2 separate regions of the Homo sapiens genome follow, and region 1 is linked to region 2. Evidence: promoter capture Hi-C in human tissues and cell types (Jung and others, 2019). All regions are on one chromosome and are shown on one strand. Each heading gives the region's core, a stretch centred on a gene start or on the middle of the fragment in contact. The rest is flanking DNA. Distances are from core to core; before and after follow the strand shown. Region 1 overlaps PDE4D (phosphodiesterase 4D). Region 2 holds the start of DEPDC1B (DEP domain containing 1B).

Region 1 (2,755 bases), core at 32-2,531, 940 kb before region 2:
CTACCAGATGAAATCTGAATCATGTCTATAATCACTAGAACTACAAGGCATTGCATGTTTAGTAAAAGCAGTCAAACAGATTAGTGAAAAGCAGAGACACAAGAGAATTCTAATCCTAACAGATGGTGCCAGACCAAAACCAGTGCTCAACACATACTAGCTAGTGATAAAACTATTACTAATAAGCATTGAGAGTATCAGAGACAAGAGGCGCAATAGAAATCTGTTCCTTGAAGGAAGGAACGGATTACTTCCAGTTGGGAGAACTGGAGGAACCTTTTAGGAAAACCAGGAATTTGAAAGATGTATTTTTGCAGTGGGCAGAGAAGAGACACCAAACCCCACAGTTCTGCCTCAGTAGTATCTCTCATTTCTGCCTTCTCCTTTCCTACAGTAATAAAACTGACATACACTCGTTTCTTTCAACTCTTGTCTCTTCACTCTAATTCATCCACAAATGACTGACAGAGTAATCATCTAGAAATTTAAACATGATCCTAAAGGTTCATGCAGACCAAGGCTGGAATAATGGGCACAGAGTACATAATAAAAAAAATACTAGCTTATAATGACACCCACTAAGGGTCCAGCCCTGTGAAACCACTTAATTTATACATAATTGTACTTAATTAAACCACAACCCCCAATAGATACTATTCCCAGAAAACTGACTAACGGGGAAACTGAAGCACACGTTAAGTAACTTGACCAAAGTCACACAATTACTAAATGCAAAGTAAGAATTTAAGTTTAGTCTCTTTTCTAACTGCTTTGGTGCTGAGTGACATAGCACCTAGAGTATGCTGTCAATTCAGTAGCTATTCTTTAAATGGATCATGAAAACCCAAGAGAAGTCTAGATAAAAACTACCTGGTAAATATAGCATATAGAAATGAAATAACAGGATGTTTACTTAAGAAAAGAGAAGTCCCTTTTTTTTTTTTTTTTTTTTTGGTGACAGAGTCTTGCTCTGTCACCCAGGCTGGAGTGCAGTGGCACAATCATGGCTCACTGCAACCTCCGCCTCCTGAGTTCAAGTGATTCTCGTGCCTCAGCCTCCTGTGGAGCTGGGATTACAGGCACACATCACCATGCCTGGCTAATTTTTTGTATTTTTAGTAGAGACGGTGTTTCGCCATGTTGCCCAGGCTGGTCTCAAACTCCTGAGCTCAGGGACTCCGCCCTCCTCAGCCTCCCAAAGTGCTAGGATTATAGGCATGAGCCACCATGCTTAGCCCAAGAGAAGTCTTTTTTAAGAGCATGAGAACACTAAAATATTGATTAATGAATTTGTTTAGCAGACATTTATTAAGCTTCCACCATTGACCAGCCATCATGCCAAGCATGGGTATACCAAAATGAATGAATAGGGCCCTGGTTCTCTGGTGGGTTACTCCAAGCCACTTGCCTTAGGGCTTCATAATGGAAGGGAGCAAAAATTCAAGTTGTAGGATTCCCAAAGCAGATCTTGGATCCATGGATGATAGTTGCAGGGAAGGAGACTTCTACTGTTTAGAAGCAAGGTCTTTCCAATCAACAGCCCTATCAAACAACAGAAGTGCTTCTGTATAATCTTCATCAAGGAGGTTTGACGAGAGGTTCAAGGACTTGTTATTACAGATGTTATTCTAAGAATTCAACAATGGCATATGTTATTACAGATGTTATTCTAAGAATTCAACCATGGCATAGAGGGTAAATCAGATAGCCCTTAACATACTATATAACCAAGATAGATTAGCCACCAGCACTTTACCTTATGCCTTGGAACAGAGCTATGTTTCCCAGCCTCCTTTGCAGTTAGATGTGGCCATAGAACTGAGTTCCAGCCAGAAGAAAACGAGTATAAGTGACATGTGCACTTCCCGGCCTGTCTCATAAAAGTTCACACATACCATCCTCTTTCATGGTCTTTCTCCTGATTCATCTGAGCCTGGCAACCTTGGGAATCACATGTTGCAAATAATGGAACCACAGGATGGTAGAATTCCAGGTCCCTGAGGCACCCAGTGGCTAGGGCAGGCTGCCTCCCCACAAAAAGCAGAAGCAAGAAATAAAAATTCACTGTGTCAATCCAATGAGATTTGGAGACTATTTTGTAGAACAGCAAGATTATCTTAGCTAAAACAGATGTCTTCCAATATTATTGATTTATTCTACCATGGTATAAATTATTGGAAACCAACAAATGGTTCTTGCTCAACTTTGTAATAATTAGGTACAGAATAAACATGTTAGACTCAGTAGGTATTAAGTGTATGCATAGCGAATGGAGGGGAATACCAGGAGCAGGAAACTGTGAGGCAGAACACTGTACTAGCAACAAATTAGATACAAATATATTTATATTTATGTCAGAACAATTTGAAACATATTTTCAAAATTCTCCATAGTGCTTAGCACAAACTGTGAAAGCACAAATGAGATTTTTGTCAAAAGATGCCTGTGGATATTATGAACGTCTTGGGGCTCATTCAACCAATATGGAAAACTTGAGATACTCTTTCCAACTCCCTTGCCTGATAGTTTTAGTCCATAGGGGAAACTGCTTCCTTCTGAGTTACTGAAAATCGATACCATGATTTTTATTTCTGGTTTCCATTGCTCTCTTTATGCTTTTCTTACTGGGCTGTGACCTGATACACTAAAATGAAATATTGATAGAAATTGTGCTCATGAAGTTTTTCCAAACAGCACCAGAAAAGGAAGTGCCAGAAATGTCAGAAGAAAGCCTATTTTCATGGGATTTCCTGCC
Region 2 (2,765 bases), core at 205-2,704:
CTGGAGTGCAATGGCGCGATCTCAGCTCACTGCAACCTCTGCCTCCCAGGTTCAAGAGATTCTCCTGCCTCAGCCTCCTGAGTAGCTGAGACTATAGGCGCATGCCACCATGCCCAGCTAATTTTTGTATTTTTAGTACAGACGGGGTTTTGCTGTGTTGGCCAGGCTGGTCTCGAACTCCTGACCTCAAGCGATCCATCCCCTTAAATCATGTAAAATTTCATGAGTATGTGCCATGTGCAGTTTTCTGTGAAGAAGATCCTTAATCTTCATCAGATTCTCAAAGCGATCTATGAGCCAAATTTAAAAAGTAAAGACCCATCAGCCCCAACTATGATTTCTCTTCCAGAAGCTGGCCTTCTCAGCTCTGGCTTGACTTACTGGTATAGTGTGTGGCTGGCTTTGGAAAGAAAAGGAAACTCTATTTACATTATCTGTATCCCAGCATCCTCACCTCTTCCATGAGTCTAGCTGAGTAAGAGTTTGGATGTTAGTTCCCATCTTTTCCTGTGTATTCATTATAATGCATGGAACTATGAGAGTAATTCCCATGTTAAATGTGGCCAGAGAGGTCGGCAGACCAAGGAGCAAGTTACTGTCCTCCCAAATTACCATTACACTTCCACAGAAAGTCCTCTAAAAACTTGCCACAGACATTACCAAACTGTCACCCTTTATTGTTCCAAGTCAAAGCAGACCAAGTACACCTCAATACCAAAGCTTTTCTCCCAGAAAAAAAAAAAAAAAAAAACAGGAACTCAGAGTCGGCAAAGACTCTCCTAAAACATCTGTCCTGGCCAGCTCTTCATCTGGATCGGTGCTGACAGAAACAGAAACGCCAGGGGCCGGAAATGCGGCCAGCGCGATGCCCCTCTGTTCTGGGCACCGTTTATTCGAATACCCCGTCAGGTATCATCAGGTGTCACTCAGGAAGGAGACACGCCCTGCCTGGACTGCCGCGAACGCTGAGCGTTACGGGGTACGTGGTGGCCCCTCAGGTTACCGACCGGGTCGGTTAGATTCCAGAGGACAAAAGGCAGGGAACAGCCTGGTCTTGGGGTCTTTAAACAGAGAGGCGCCATCTACTGCCGAGAACCCAGTCAACATCTCATGGACAAAGCTGCACTAACCCCCGGCCGGCTGAGCTCTGGGCCCCGTTAGCCTTTCTTTGAGGCTCGTCCACTAAAAGGCAGCCCCAGTAGTCCCAGCTGAAATGCTCCACACCCGAGCCCCGCTGGCCTGCGGAAGCGAAGACTGACAAGCACTCTGTCCGCGCGCTGAGTGGGGGCTCGCGGCACCGGGTGCTCCGCCCAGGCCCCAGCACACTCACTCACCAGCCTGGTAGCTCGGTACGGCCCGGGCCCCACGATGCGATGCTCCATGGCGCGTAGGCAGCAGCGGCCGCAGCCGCGCCAGCGCTGATCCCCGCCAGCCGGAGGAGCAGCAGTTTGAATCCCAAGCCCGCGGGCTGCGGGCGCTGATTGGGCGGCGCGGCAGCACGTCACCGGAAATGCGCGGGGAGGCAGGCGTCTTCTCCGAGACCCGCGGCGCTGGGAGCTCCGCGTGCGAACTTGCCCGGGGCGAAATCTGTTGCCCACCCTGGTCCCACCGTGCGAGCACACCTAGGCAGGTGCGACTAAGGGGCCGGGGGCGTCTCCCCAGCGCTGGAAAACGCTGTGCAGCGCCCTTCCCAGATTTCTGCGTCCGCGCAACACAAACACACGCAACGCTATCTCTACAAAAGGGTCAATAATAGGTGTTATCCAGCGACCGAAACCCAGCTTTGGGCCGCGTGGATAAATACCTGTCCTCCCTACCAAGTGCACTGTGAGCCTGGAGGTGCTGCTAACGCTGGGAGAAGCGGTAGTGAAATGAAGCGAGGCGACAGCTTTTACCAGTGTAGGGACATTTAAAAACGGGATAGAGAGCACAAGGAGCGTAGACAGTGTGTTAAGGGCAATAAAGAGCGGGAAGGGAGCCCCGATTCCTCTTCTGTTTGTTCTCATGATAGTCTTTTCCCCTTTAATTTGAGTTCTATGTTTTGTATTGGGCTGATACTTTTAGTCCTCGGCAATAGGGTTGTGAGTCCTTTTTTGACTGCTTAGAATTTTCCCCCTGGGAATTGCTAGTCCGATTTGCAATCTTTCAGAGGGACAAATGAAGTAACTCCATATACTTAGGACTCTGTACACCTACTCAAATTTGGTCATCTCGGTAAGTACCCAGGACAAGACGTTGAAGGAGTGAAGGTGTGCCATTCCAAAATATGCCTAATTGGTATATTGATTATTTCGAGCGGAAAACATTGGAGAAATGGTAGTTTCAGAAAGGGCAAGCTGACCTGCCTCTTCGATGCAGCAGGCCACAAAGATTTCTCTGGGATGGGCATCCTCTCCCTACCACGGTGAGAAAATAGCCTTTATCACCAAAGGCTTGGAATTGAAGGCTGCAGTGGACCTGAATAAACATTCTTAACGAAGTAACCCTATCTTCCACTAGGAGATATAGGAGATTTTTTACATATATCTTCTAGTGACTCCCTAGAAAATGTTACTGCCTTTGTGAGCTGTGGAAGTTAACTCGAGTCACAGGGCACCAAAATATGTTAGCAGCTGCCCATATCCGAGACACGGCCCCAAAGTATGTTACAGGCAGTGAATTCCTACAGATCTGCAGCAACCTCAATTCTTGACTCCTCAGAAGAAAGAGTTCGACTGAGGGGCATAAGGCAAAAGGAGAGACCAAGGCAAGTATTAGAACAGAAG

The links. The method cuts DNA at HindIII sites, captures the fragments that hold promoters and counts their contacts. A contact is called where the count stands out against the background at its distance.
Region 1: a fragment that was not itself captured here is called in contact with the fragment with the promoter of DEPDC1B in region 2 in 2 of the 25 tissues and cell types used here (H1 embryonic stem cells and hippocampus).

What each region holds. Positions count from the first base shown.
Region 1 is chr5:59,763,720-59,766,474 of GRCh38, forward strand. All of the region lies in intron 1 of PDE4D (phosphodiesterase 4D), which reads right to left. Among named protein-coding and RNA genes, the nearest start is that of MIR582, 61 kb to the left of the region's middle. The HindIII fragment of the contact is 9,367 bases long and covers 1-2,755 here.
Region 2 is chr5:60,698,712-60,701,476 of GRCh38, forward strand. DEPDC1B (DEP domain containing 1B) reads right to left here and starts at 1,455. Exons shown (of 11, transcript NM_018369.3): 1 at 1,335-1,455. The coding sequence starts at 1,382. It overlaps LOC124900982 (a long non-coding RNA gene), which reads left to right and starts at 1,529. Exons shown (of 2, transcript XR_007058779.1): 1 at 1,529-1,630. The HindIII fragment of the contact is 4,370 bases long and covers 1-2,765 here.